Regions from separate parts of the Homo sapiens genome. Here all the other regions are linked to region 4. Evidence: promoter capture Hi-C in human tissues and cell types (Jung and others, 2019). All regions are on one chromosome and are shown on one strand. The core of a region is centred on a gene start or on the middle of the fragment in contact, and the rest is flanking DNA. Distances in the headings are between cores, read along the strand shown. Region 1 overlaps UIMC1 (ubiquitin interaction motif containing 1). Region 2 overlaps ZNF346 (zinc finger protein 346). Region 3 has its middle 6.3 kb from the start of ZNF346. Region 4 holds the start of UNC5A (unc-5 netrin receptor A). Region 5 overlaps UIMC1 (ubiquitin interaction motif containing 1).

Region 1 (2,700 bases), core at 72-2,571, 160 kb before region 4:
TGAGTGTGCTGGCGTGATCTTGGCTCACTGCAACCTCTGCCTCCCGGGTTCATAACGATTCTCCCACCTCAGCCTCCTGAGTATATGGGCCTACAGGCACATGCCACTACACTCTGCTAATGTTTGCCAGGCTAGTCTCCAGCTCCTGACCTCAAGCGATCCACCCGCCTCAGCCTTCCAAAGTGCTGGGATTATAGGCATGAGCCACCATGCCTGGCTAGAACAGAAGTTTTAAACTTTGATGTGGTCCATTTTTTTCTCTTTTATGGTTTTTTTTCTTTCTATGTCCTAAGAAATCTTTGACTACGCTAAGGTTATGAAGATTTCCACCTATTTTCTTCTGGAAATTTTATAGTTTTAGCTTTAGCATTTAGATTTCTGATCTATTTTGAGTTTTTGTATATGGTGCAAGGTAAGAATTAAGGTTCATTTTTTTCCCATATGGATATCCAATCATTCTTGTACCATTTGCTGGAAAGACTGTCCTTTCCTTGTGTTGAAAATCAATGCATGGGTCTATTTCTGAATTTTCTGTTCTTTTCCATTTATTTATGTTTGTCATTATGCCATACCACACTGTCTTGATTAATGTAGCTTTATAATGTCTTAAAATCAGGTAGTATAATTCTTCCAACTTTATTTTAAAAATTGTTTTGATTAATTTGGGTCCTTTGCATTCCTATATAAATTTAATTTTATTATTTGTTTATTACTACTGTTTTTTGAGGCAGGGTCCTACTCTGTCGCCCAGGCTGGAATATAGTGGTGTGACTGCAGCACTGTAGCCTCAACCTCCTAGGCTCAAGTGATCCTCCAGCTTTAGCCTCCTGAATAGCTGGGACTAACAGGCATGCATCACCATACCCAGCTAATTTTTTTTTCTTTCTTTTTGAGACAGGGTCTCCCTCTGTTGTCCAGGTTGGAATGCAGTGGCTCACTACAACCTCTGCCTCCTGGGCTCAAGTGATCCTCTCATCTCAGCCTCCCAAGTAGCTAGGACCACAGGTGTATACCACCACATCCAGCTAGTTTTTTATTATTTGTAGAGACAAGATCTCACTATGTTGCCTAGGCTGGTCTCGAACTGCTGGGCTTAAGTGATCTTCCCACCTCTGCCTCCTGAGTAGCTGAGACTGTAGGTGTGCATCACTACACCCAGCTATTTTTTAAAATTTATTTTTTTCTTTTCTTTTTTTTTTTTTTGAGACAGGGTCTCACTTTGTCACCTATGCTGGAATGCATTGGTGTGATCTTGGCTCACTGCAGCTTCGACCACCTGGACTTGAGCAATTATAGGCATGAGCCACTGTACCTGGCCCTGTTTTTCATTGTTACTCTCCTGAGGTGCCTTTTTAGACTATTTTTCCCTCTAACCACTGCCATCCCCATGATATTTTTAATACCACAGATAAGCTTTGTATTCCGTTTTATGTACTGATTGTATGTCTGTATCTTATATATAAAAAGATTTTTATTTTATTTTATTTTTGCCTCCAAGAACCAATTTTTGTCCACTTGGGGATGGTATCACTCTTGTTGAGAATGCATGATAGAAGTTGCCAGACTTGGCCATGCCCAGTGGCTCATGCCTGTGATCCCAGCACTTTGGGAGGCCGAGGCGGGTGGATCACCTGAGGTCAGGAGTTTGAGACCAGCCTGGCCAACATGGTGAAACCTCGTCTCTACTAAAAATACAAAAATTAGCCGGGCCTGGTGGCAGGCACCTATAATCCCAACTACTTCGGAGGCTGAGGGAGGAGTATCGCTTGAACCTGGGAGGCAGAGGTTGCAGTGAGCTGAGATCACGCCACTGCACTCCAGCCTGGGCAACAGAGAGAGACGCCATTTCAAAAAAAAAAAAAAAGAAGTTGCCAGACTTACTGGTATAAAATCATTCATAGTATTCCCTTATTTATTCTTTTAGTGACTGTAGAATTTATAATCTTGTTTCCTCTTTTATTGTCGGTATTGTTAATTGTTGTTGTGTTTTTGTTCTTGAGCAGTTAAGAGGTTTATGCATTTTAATTTTTTAATTTTTTAATTTTTTGAGATGGAGTCTTGTTCTGTCGCCCAGGTTAGAGCGCAGTTGCGTGATCTTGGCTCGCTGCAACCTCCGCCTCCCGGGTTTAAGCGATTCTCCTACCTCAGCCTCCCGAGTAGCTGGGATTACAGGCGCCTGCCACCACGCCCAGCTAATTTTTGTATTTTTAGTAGAGATGAGGTTTCACCATGTAGGCCAGGCTGGTCTCAAACTCCTGACCTCAGGTGATCTGCCTGGCTTGGCCTCCCAAAGTGCTGGGATTACAGGCATGAGTCACCGCTCCTGGCCGAGGTTTATGCATTTTATTGACCTTTTTGTAGAATTGATTTTTTTTTTTTTTTGAGACGGAGTCTCACTCTGTTGCCTAGGCTGGAGTGCAGTGGCGCATCTCTGCTCACTGCAAGCTCTGCCTTCAGGGTTCACGCCATTCTCCTGCCTCAGCCTCGTGAGTAGCTGGGACTATAGGCGCTCACCACCATGCCTGGCTGATTTTTTGTATTTTTTTAGTAGAGACGGGGTTTCACCGTGTTAGCCAGGATGGTCTCGATCTCCTGATCTCATGATCCGCCTACCTTGGCCTCCCAAAGTGCTGGGATTACAGGCGTGAGCCACCGCGCCTGGCCTGTAATAATTCTATAAAGAGGAGCTTTTAATTTGCT
Region 2 (2,700 bases), core at 92-2,591, 230 kb before region 4:
AGGTTGTCAGTGGAGATGGAGAAAAGTGAATGAATTTGGAATTATGTTCCGGCAATAGGTTTGACATCTGATTTCTTAGACTGGATGTGGGGGTGGGAGTGAAGGAAGGAAAGGAGTCAAGGATAACTCCTAGGTTTTGAACTTGAACAAGTGAATAGATTAGAACTAGGGGAAGATAGCCTTGGAGGAAAAATTAAAGACTTTTCGTTATGTGAGTGTGAGTAGTCTATCAGATATATAGGTGGAGATGAGTTGGAGATTCAGATCTGTCAGTCACTTGAAGCTCAAGGGGGAGGTCAGAGCTGGAGATATAAATGGGGAATCATTGGTATATCAATCATATTGAACACTGTGGGGCTGGAAGAGATTGCCTAGCGTAGATGAAGAAGGAAAGAGGTTCAGAGACTGAGCCTTGGGACCCTCCCAATTTTGAAGTCAGGCAGAGGAAGCGAAGTTGAATATAAAACAAAGTGAGTACAGGGTGGAACTTCTGGCCAAGGCAGAGTGAGGAGATCTCCTGCAGAAGCAACAATAAAACAGGACAAAACTGACAAAACCGGACAAAACTGACAAAACCAACCACTTCAGCACTCTGGAAGTTAACCAAAGGGACTTAACAATCCGAGAGCAATTTTGTGCTTGCAAAACTGCTGAACTTCAGGTAAGAACAGTAGGAATCAGCGGCTTTTTTTTTTCCCCAGATGGGGAAAAACAAACAAACAAACAAAACCTCAGGGTTTCCCAGGCTGCAGTGCCCACACTGGAGTGCAGTGGCATAATGTCAGCTCACTGTAGCCTCAATTTCCCAGGCTCAGGTGAGGCTGCTCTCAGCCCTTCCTGCAATCGGTGTAGAAACTCTGGCAAGAAGGTGCTAGCCATGAAAACAAATAGCTTCCATACAGAAGGAAGGAAATCACTTGATTTCCTTTACATGTAGCAATATTGTTGATGGAAATGATGATCTCCAAGGCAGTAAGCAGGAAGAGTGAAAGGCTTCACTGGCCGGAGGTGTGCTCATGGTTGGGGCAAGTGTGTTCCTGGCTGAGACTGTGTGACAGCGGAGACCTGAGAGGGCCCAAGTTAGCCACATACTCATGGCCACCCTGAGGCTGCGTACACACACAAAAGAGATGCAAAAGGACCTCGTGGGAAGGGTAGATCTCAAAATGACTTGAACTTTGATTATGCTTCCCTACCAACACACAGATCCAACAATACAAAATCAAGGGCTTATAGGCTCCAGGTGTTTAGAACAAGATCTTGTTGAATCCCTAGTTAATCTGACCACTAAGCAACATAAACACATTAAAGTAGAAATTATAAAAGGGAACCAAATTGGGAATGTTTGCTTTTAAAGCCTTTGCCCACCATGTAAGCAGTCTGACTGCTCTGAGGCCACCAAGCTGTGAGAAACCCCAGACTATTTCATGCATCAAGACCACATGGAGAGTTCCTGACACCACATGAAAAGAGAGATGTCTGGCCAGCCCCCAGAGGCTCCACCCCGCTGTTGTTTCAGCTCTAGCTCCCAGATGCTCCATTTCCCTGCTGTTTCAACTTGAGCCACCATCTGACTGCAACTGCATAAGAGACCCTGAATCAGAACTATCCAGCCAAGCCTTTCCCAAATTCCTGGCCCACAAAAACTGAGAGGTTTATGAGGTTGGAGGAAGCTAAGGCCCACAGAGGGAAAAAAAAAAAAAACTTGGATAAAATTGTCAATTAGGCCGGGTGCGGTAGCTCACGCCTGTAATACCAGCACTTTGGGAGGCAGAGGCGGGCGGATCACGAGGCCAGGAGTTCAAGACCAGCCTGGCCAACATAGTGAAACCCTGTCTCTACTAAAAATACAAAAAAGTTTAGCCCCAGGGCATGGTGGCAGGTGCCTGTGTCCCAGCTACTTGGGAGGCTGAGGCAGGAGAATCGATTGAACCCAGGAGGCGGAGGTTGCAGTGAGCCGAGATCATGCCACTGCACTCCAGCCTGCGCGACACAGTGAAACTGTCTCAAAAAAAAAAAAAAAAAAAAAAGTCAATTAGCCGGGTGTGATGGTAAGGCACTTGTAATTCCAGTTACTCGGGAGGCTGAGACAGGAGAACTGCTTGAACCCGGGAGGCGGAGGCTGCAGTCAGCCAAGATTGCGCCATTGCACTCCAGCCTGGGCAACAGGAGTAAAACTCTGTCTCAAAAAAAAAAAAAAATTGTCAAAATTCTGAGATGGCAGCCTGACTACACATCCTTTTTGCCATGATATCTGCACACAACTTTAATCCAACTACCAACTATCTCTCCAGGGTGCAAAAGATTTGATATGGAAAATGAGGTGCTTTTCATTCATTCACTGGAGAGGCAGGGCGTGGTGGCTCAGCCTGTAATCCCAACACTTGGGAAGGCCAAGGCAGGTAGATTGCTTGAGGCCAGGAGTTTGAGACCAGCCTCGCCAACATGGCAAACCCCCGTCTCCACCAAAAATAAAAAAATTAGGCAGGCATGGTGCTATGTGCCTATAATCCCAGCTACTTGGGAGGCTGAGGCACAAGAATCACTTGAACCCAGGAGGTGGAGGTTGCAGTGAGCCAAGATCGTGCCACTACACTTGAGCCTGGGCGACAGAGTAAGACTCCATCTCAAAAAAAAAAAAGAAAAGAAAAGAAAAGAAAAAGAAAATCACTAGAGAGGCTGAAAGTATGATACTAGGTT
Region 3 (2,700 bases), core at 63-2,562, 210 kb before region 4:
GCTGTTGTACCACTGCACTACCACCTGGGTGACACAGCAAGACCCTGTCTCAAAAAAAAAAAAAAAAGGGCCAGCGTGGTGGCTCAGGCCTGTAATCATAGCACTTTGGGAGGCCAAGTGGGCGGATCACCTGCGGACAGGAGTTCAAATGGTGAAACCTCGTCTCTACTAAAAAATACAAAAATTAGCTAGGCATGGTGGCAGAAGCCTGTAATCCCAGCTACTCAGGAGGCAGAGGCAGGAGAATTGCTTGAACCCAGGAGACGGAGGTTGCAGTGAACCGAGATTGCGCCACTGTACTCCAGCCTGGGCAAGAAGAGCAAGACTCCATCTCAAAAAAATAAAAAAGAGGGAGATGACAGCCAAGGCTAGTGGGCTAGTGTGGATGGGGTGGGACAATGAATCTACCATGTGGGGATCAGAATGGTATCTGAGTTACCTCCTAATAGTCTTTTTATTTCTCATCTCTAAGAACACATCTCAAACTATTAGAGGTGGCCACAGATTAGCTTTTACTAACAGGATGTAAAGAAGTGTTGTTTGAATCAGAATCTGAGATTGGTCCAGAACAGAAGGGGTGCTCTTGAGGAGAACTGTGGAACTACCAAGCCCAGCAGGGGCCCAGGGGCACATCTTTGCTGCAATCCTAGTCCACTTCTCAGGCTTCTTTATTTCATTTCATTTTTCATTTCATTTCATATTTCATTTCATTATTTTGACAGAGGTTCACACTTGTCACCCAGGCTGGAGTGCAATGGCGCAATCTCAGCTCACTGCAACCTCTGCCTCCTGGGTTCAAGTGATTCTCCTGCCTCAGCCTCCTGAGTAGCTGGGACTAGAGGCACCCGCCACCATGCCTGGCTATTTTTTGTAATTTTAGTAGAGACGGGGTTTTACCATGTTGGCCAGGGTGGTCTTGAACTCCTGACCTCAGGTGATTCACCTGCCTCGGCCTCCCAAAGTTCTGGGATTACAGGCATGAGCCGCCGCGCCCGGCCTACTGGATAATTTTCTTTTTTGAGACGGAGTCTCACTCTGTTGCCAGGCTGGAGTGCAGTGGCATGAGTGCAGTGGTAAGATCTCGGCTCACTGCAACCTCGGCTGACTGCAACCTCTGCCTCCCAGGTTCAAGCGATTCTCCTGCCTCAGCCTTCTGAGTAGCTGGGACTAGAGGTGCGTGCCACCACACCCAGCTAATTTTTTTGTATTTTTAGTAGAGGGGCGTTTCACCATGTTGGCCAGGATGGTCTCGATCTTTTGACCTCGTGATCCGCCCGCCTCGGCCTCCCAAAGTTCTGGAATTACAGGCATGAGCCACCGTGCCCAGCCTGGATAATTTTATAGTATTTTGTTTGTTTGGTTTTGTTTTGTTTTTGAGATGGAGTCTTGCTCTGTCATCCAGGTTGGAGGGCAATTACATGATCTCGGCTCACTGCAACCTCTGCCTCCCAGGTTCAAGCGATTCTCCTGCCTCAACCTCCTGAGTAGCTGGGATTACAGGCACCAGCCACCATGCCTGGCTAATTTTGTATTTTTAGTAGAGACGGGGTTTCACCATGTTGGTCAGGCTGGTCTTAAACTCCTGTCCTCAGGTGATCCCCCCACCTTGGCCTCCCAAAGTGGTGGGATTATGGGCATGAGCCACCGCGTCCTGCCTCTTTTTTTCTTTTTTGAGATGGAGTCTTCTTCTGTTGCCCAGACTGGAATGTGGTAGCGTGGTCTCGGCTCACTGCACCCTCAGCCTCCCGGGTTCAAGTGATTCTGTCTCAGCTGCCTGAGTAGCTGGGATTACAGATGTGCGCCACCACGTCTGGCTAATTTTTTAATTTTAGGTAGAGACAGGGTTTCACCATGTTGGCCAAACTGGTCTCGAACTCTTGACCTCAAGTGATCTGCCTGTCTCAGCCTCCCAAAGTGCTGGGATTACAAGTGTGAGCCACCATGCCTGGCCTAATTTTATGGTATCTTTAGGGACGCAGGGAAGCAGTGTCTTCAGGGGATGCCAGGTTTTAATTTAGAGACTTTCTAAGGACAGATTGAGGGCAGAGGGGAGTCTGTTGATCACAGACTGGGATTTACAGAGGATTTTGGGTTAGAGTCAAGTAATGCTTTCCAGCCTTTTCTCCATTATAGTCCACATAGAAAATGAGCATATCTGTATAGCATGTTAGAGTAAACAGATAAGGTTGCTCCTCCTCATCACTGCAGTGACAGTTTGGGAATTCCAGCCACTCTACATGCCCCGCTGGGCCACCCTTGGAGCTGGAGGGATGTATGTCCAGAGCCATATCAGGAAGAGAGTCCAGCTGCAACAGATAGCCGTCATATCTTGAACCCTGACAATGTCTGAGGCAAGCAGGCTGGGGATTAACCACAAATCTCTGAGAATTGAGCAGTTAACGCTGTGTGGTACTTAGCTTGACATGTATTGCTCCATTCTGCATGCATGAGTTATGTGATCTTAGGTAAATTCCTTAACATTTGTGAGGCTGCTTCTCCATCTGTAAAATGAGGAGATGATACCCACCTCAAATGGTTGTTGTGAAGATTAACTAATATAATCTCCGTAAACTACTTAGCACATTGCTTGGCACATAGTAAATGGTAGCTATGTAGTTTATTCCAAAAGCTATATTTTTCTGATAATTTAACATACTGATGTATTTTTAGTAGAGATGAGGTTTCACCATGTTTGTCAGG
Region 4 (2,700 bases), core at 99-2,598:
TTTGGCAGCTCAGAAACCCCAGTGCTCCCTTCCAACACCCCTGTTATAAGCAGCGGCCTGGCCAGGCTGGGGAGTAACCGCCCAGGTTCTAGGGGCAGCAAGAATCGAGAATTGCCAGGGTAAGCCTCAAGCCCCCTTGACCACACAAATGGCACCCACCCCCCACCACCACAGACACATACGCTCAACTCAGCTAAGTGCATGGGGGGCAGAGATCAGGAGGCCCCCACAGCTCAGCCTAGGTGAAGGCTCAGGGACAGCAGACAAAGGATGCAGGGGAACTTCCTCCCCCCAAGCCCCTCCCAAGGGAATGAGGTGGGCTGAGGGCTGAGTTAGCAGTGGGTTAGGGTGACCAATGGGGCATGCAGGGGCCAAGAAAGGCTATGGAGTTTAAGGAAGAAGGGGAAACTGGCGGACCAACCACACACAACTCTGGCCCCCCGCACCAGGGAGGCCAGGAGCCACAGCCCCGGCCACCGGGACCGCGGCGCTTTGACTGTGCTGGCTGCAAGGACTGGGGGCTGGTGTATGCGCCTCCACGCCTGAGTGTGTGCGTGTGAGAGCGTGTGTGGCGGGGACAGAGGAGGACACTGTGTTCTGGACGTGGGCAGAGGCCAGGTGCCAAGCTGGGAGATTGTGAGTGGCTGTTTAGGGCAGATGCTACCGGGAAGAGGTATCTTAAACGTTCCCCGCACCCCCCATTTCCTGGGCACTGGGATAGGCTCAAAACCCTCTAATCTTCGAATCCTCAAAGTCAGGCTCCCTGGGGTTGATCCAAACCCCCAGCCCTGCTCCGGGCCCAGGCAACCAGCAAACTTCCCCCACCCGGAGGCGTGGGGTGTCTACACTCGCCAGCCCCGCGGGCTGACAGCTGCTCCTGGACTTGGCAGAACCCAGGCTTCCGGGAGAGCGCGCGGGGAAGCTGCGCAGCAGCAAGAAGAGCCCCCCGCGTCCCGCCTCGCAAAGTTTGGCCTCGGGGGGCTCCCAGCCGGGTCTGGCAGCGCTGGTCAGGGACCCCCAGAGCAGCGAGCGTTCGCGCGCACGGTCCCCCGCAAGCCTCCCCAGAGCGCGCGCGGCGTGACTCACCCGAGCCGCGGAGCCAAGCGGCGAGGACTATGCCCAGGAGCGCTGGCCACAGGCCGGGCCGGACGGCCATGGCCGCGGGCGGGCAGGCGGGCGGGCCGGGCGCGGGGCCCCGCGGGCGGGAGGGCGGCTTTAGCGCCTCAGCCCGGAGCCCCAGCTCGGGGCGCCCCCGGGGCCCATGCCAGCGGACTGCGCTGCCTCCGGGCGGCCGGCTGCCGGGCGCACGCGGCGCGTGGCTCCCTTGGGCACGGGAGCGCAGCAATGCAGCCGGGGCGGAGCGCAGCGCCAGCCGCGCCGCGCACCGAGCCAGCCGCGCCGCGGAGCCCGCAGCCGGAGAGCGGGCCGGTGGGCGCCGCAAAACCCGGACTGGAGCGACGGAGCGGGGCGGCGGCTGGGAGGGGCGGGGGAAGGAAGGAGGGGCCGGGCCGCCCCGCGCAGCGCGCGCGGGCCACCCCCAGCACCGGGAATCCCTCTGGGCGATGCCTGAGGCTCCCCCAGGGAGGGGCTTGGGGTGGTGGGCGTGGAGGCCTCCCACCGCCCCGCGGGGTCTCCAGGGACAGGGGCAGGAGTCTGAAACCCGGAGTGGATCGGTGCTCCGGATCCGGGCTCTCGCGGGCCCGCCAGTCTGCGCACAGGTGGCCCGGGAGGGGCCCGGGGCTGCGGCGACCCCGGCGCGGCGCCAGCCTGCGGAGAGCCGCCCAGGGCAGGGGTGCCCCGGGCAGGTTCCGCTGCAGTCCTCTCCCCCGCCCTTTCCTCGCGGCCGCGCTCCGGGGTCGTCCGGGCGCCGCGGTACGCTGCCAGCCCGCGGCTTGGTTAGGGGACTGCGGGAGAGCCCCGGGGCCCTGGCCCGCGCGCAGAGGTGCCCTGGCCACCAGAGCTGGCAGGCCAGACTCGGGGACACCCGCAGTCCCAGCCTCGCAGGCTGGTGGATTCCAGGGGCGCGCCTCACACCATGACCCAAGGTTTCCCTAACCCCTCGGCGCCGTTCGCCGAAGGAAAACAACCTTCAGGCGCAGCACACCCGACTGGGCGCGCGGTGTTTGAGCCCCGAGAGCGCACGGCGCCCGCGACGTGGGTGTAAAGGAACGAGCTGGGCTTTGGCAGCTAGGGAGACCGGGGGTAGGGTCCAGGCGACTTCACCTTCCAGCTCTGTGACCTTGGTCAAGTCACGTCGTCTCCTGGAGCCTCCAGCAGTGACCGCTGCTGGAGTCTCCTGTGCCCCACCCCCATTCCCTAATCGGGTTAAAATAAACAGAGGGCTGCCTTGAAGGAGAAAGGAAATGACAGCCGCGTGCGGTGTGCCTGGGGGGAGTGATCGGAAAAAGAGAGGGTCCTAGTCTGGGTCGGGAGGGGAATGAGCAGGGTGAGGGCAGGGTCGCAAACTCAAACGCCTACGGGGCCGGTCGATAATATAAATTGGCGCTGCAGGCTAGGCGATGTAAGGGATGGTCTTGCTTCCACAAAGAGATATGAGCTCTCCTATATTTCTTGAGACACGAGGCCCTCTCTCGGTCTGTCTTTTGTTTCCCACTTTTGATAGAGAAGGGTTATGAAAAATGTTTTGCTTTCCTCTTAAGTCTACTATAAAAAACACCAGCTAAAGCTCCAGAGGCAACC
Region 5 (2,700 bases), core at 21-2,520, 180 kb before region 4:
AAAAACCAATTTTACACACAATTTTAGTTAATCCCCTGAAGCCAATCTATAGATTCTTTAAGGGCTTTTGGATTGACAGGTTAAGAACTCTTGGCTGGCAGTTCTCTAAGTATTAATCTATCTCTTCTTTTGAGATGAGGTCTCACTCTGTTGCCCAGGCTAGAGTGCAGTGGCGCCATCATGGCTCAATGCAGCCTCCACCTCCCTAGGCTCAGGTGATCATGCCACTTTAGCCTCTCAAGTAGCTGGGACTATAGGTGTGCACCACCACACCTGGCTAATTTTTAAAATTTTTTTGTAGAGGTGGGGTCTTTCTTTTTTTGAAACGGAGTCTCGCTCTGTCTCACAGGCTGGAGTGCAGTGACACAATCTCGGCTCACTGCAAGCTCTGCCTCCCAGGTTCACGCCATTCTCCTGCCTCAGCCTCCCGAGTAGATGGGACTACAGTTGCCTGCCACCACGCCCGGCGAATTTTTTGTATTTTTAGTAGACTTGGGGTTTCACCGTGTTAGCCAGGATGGTTTCGATCTCCTGACCTCGTGATCTGCCCGCCTCGGCCTCTCAAAGTGCTGAGATTACAGGTGTGAGCCACCGCGCCTGGCCTTTTTTTTTTTTTTTTTTTTGAGACGGAGTTTCACTCTTGTTGCCCAGGCTTGAATGCAATAGTGCCACCATGCCTGGCTAATTTTGTATTTTTAGTAGAGATGGGATTTCTCCATGTTGGTCAGGCTGGTCTTGAGCTCCCGACCTCAGGTGATCGAGAGGCAGTCTTTCTGTGTTGCCCAGGCTGGTCAGATCTGTCTTCTCAATTTGCCAGATTTCATATTCTTTCCCCTCAGTTGTCTTTGCTGTTTCTCCCCAAAGAGATTTGCTCTTTGGGTAGTCTTCATTATGGTAGTAGCAGACCTGAATCTAAAAAGGTAGAGTAAGGTGAATTAAAACTGAGGCCGGGCTTGGTGGCTCATGTCTGTAATCCCAGCACTTTGGGAGGCTGAGGCAGGTGGATCACGAGGTCAGGAGATCGAGACCATCTTGGCTAACACGATGAAACCCCATCTCTACTAAAAATGCAAAAAAAATTAGCCGGGCGTGGTGGCGGGCGCCTGTAATCCCAGCTACTCAGGAGGCTGAAGCAGGAGAATGGTGTGAACCTGGGAGGCAGAGCTTGCAGTGAGCCGAGATAGTGCCACTGCAGTCTGGCCTGGGCGAAAGAGCGAGACTCTGTCTCAAAAAAAATAAAAATAAAAATAAAAAATAAAATAAAAAATAAAACTGAGGACTTGATTAGTCATGATGGCTTGTGCTTCTAATCCTAGCATTTTAGGAGGCCAAGGCAGGAGGATCGTTTGAGGCCAGGAGTTCAAGACCAGCCTGGGCAACACAGCAAGACCCCCATCTCTTTAAAAAAAAAAATTAGCTGAGTGTTGTGGTGTACTCTTGTAGTCCTACCTACCTGGGAAGCTGGGGCAGGAGGATTCTTTGAACCTAAGAGTTACAGGTTGCAGTGAGCTATGATCATACACATTGCATTCAAGCCAAGGCAACAGAACAAGCCCCTATCTCAAGAAACAAAAACATAAATATAAAATCTATTTATATTAGAAATATGGCAACATTTGTACAAAGTTGCATGTGTTTTTTCCATTTCTGTTACAGTTTGGGGTTTAGAAAATTCACTTCTTGCGAATTAATATAAAATTAATTTATTTTAGGAAGTACAAATATGTCATCTTATTTGTGTTTTAATTTGTGTAATGGTAACTTGATAGGTTTTTAACCTTTTCCTGCTGCTATAACAGAATATCTTAGACTGGGTAATTTATAAACAATACAATTTTTTTTGTTCACAGTTCTGAAGTCTGGTAAATGTAAGATCAAGGTGCCTGATGAGGGCTTGCACTGTGCTTAAAAGATGGGACCTTCTTGCTGTGTCTTCACATGGCAGAAGGGTAAAAGGGGCAAACAGGTTCTCTTAGGCCTCTCTTATAAGGGCACTAGTCCCATTCATGAGTGCTGTGTCTTCATGACTTCCCTAAGTCCCCATTTCTTTCTTTGTTTTTGTTTTTTTTTTTTGTAACAGAGTCTCGCTCTGTTGCCCAGGCTGGAGTGCAGTGGCTCGATCTCGGCTCACTGCAAGCTCCACCTCCCGGGTTCACGCCATTCTCCTGCCTCAGCCTCCCGAGTAGCTGGGGCTACAGGCTCCCGCCACCACGCCTGGCTAATTTTTTTGTATTTTTAGTAGAGACGGGGTTTCACCATGTTAGCCAGGATGGTCTCGATCTCCTGACCTCATGATCTGCCTGCCTCGGCCTCCCAAAGTGCTGGGATTACAGACGTGAGCCACTGCGCCTGGCCCCAGGCCCCATTTCTTACCAACACATTGGGGATTAGATGTCAGCATATGAATTTTGGAGGGACACAAACATTTAGACCATAGTGGATAGGTCATATCTAGTTATCTAGTGAGATGTTACTGCTTTAGTATGAATTTATGTATACTTAAATAATAACTAGCTACCTCTGCATTGCATATGCAATAAATATTCTGTTAACTGTATTTAAATACAGAAGTTAAAAGTATATTTCTTTTTTTTTTTGAGGCAGGGTCTTGGTCGGTTGACTAGGCTGGAGTGCAGTGGTGTGATCTTGGTTCACTGCAACCTCCATCTCCTGGGTTCAAGCAATCCTGCCCCAGCCTCT

Evidence for each region. Contacts are between HindIII fragments. The study calls those that stand out against the background at their distance.
Region 1: a contact is called between a fragment that was not itself captured here and the fragment with the promoter of UNC5A in region 4, in 3 of the 25 tissues and cell types used here (lymphoblastoid cells, mesendoderm cells and neural progenitor cells).
Region 2: a fragment that was not itself captured here is called in contact with the fragment with the promoter of UNC5A in region 4 in 2 of the 25 tissues and cell types used here (dorsolateral prefrontal cortex and mesendoderm cells).
Region 3: a contact is called between a fragment that was not itself captured here and the fragment with the promoter of UNC5A in region 4, in 1 of the 25 tissues and cell types used here (dorsolateral prefrontal cortex).
Region 5: a fragment that was not itself captured here is called in contact with the fragment with the promoter of UNC5A in region 4 in 4 of the 25 tissues and cell types used here (IMR-90 fibroblasts, dorsolateral prefrontal cortex, lymphoblastoid cells and 1 more).

What each region holds. Positions count from the first base shown.
Region 1 is chr5:176,972,083-176,974,782 of GRCh38, reverse strand. All of the region lies in intron 3 of UIMC1 (ubiquitin interaction motif containing 1), which reads left to right. Among named protein-coding and RNA genes, the nearest start is that of UIMC1, 33 kb to the left of the region's middle. The HindIII fragment of the contact is 4,949 bases long and covers 1-2,700 here.
Region 2 is chr5:177,034,964-177,037,663 of GRCh38, reverse strand. All of the region lies in intron 1 of ZNF346 (zinc finger protein 346), which reads right to left. Among named protein-coding and RNA genes, the nearest start is that of ZNF346, 14 kb to the right of the region's middle. The HindIII fragment of the contact is 3,200 bases long and covers 1-2,700 here.
Region 3 is chr5:177,015,039-177,017,738 of GRCh38, reverse strand. It overlaps a transcript of UIMC1 not described here. Among named protein-coding and RNA genes, the nearest start is that of ZNF346, 6.3 kb to the left of the region's middle. The HindIII fragment of the contact is 8,034 bases long and covers 1-2,700 here.
Region 4 is chr5:176,809,207-176,811,906 of GRCh38, reverse strand. UNC5A (unc-5 netrin receptor A) reads right to left here and starts at 1,348. Exons shown (of 15, transcript NM_133369.3): 1 at 1,087-1,348. The coding sequence starts at 1,156. The HindIII fragment of the contact is 11,668 bases long and covers 1-2,700 here.
Region 5 is chr5:176,989,554-176,992,253 of GRCh38, reverse strand. The region is part of intron 1 of UIMC1 (ubiquitin interaction motif containing 1); the gene reads left to right. Among named protein-coding and RNA genes, the nearest start is that of UIMC1, 16 kb to the left of the region's middle. The HindIII fragment of the contact is 7,516 bases long and covers 1-2,700 here.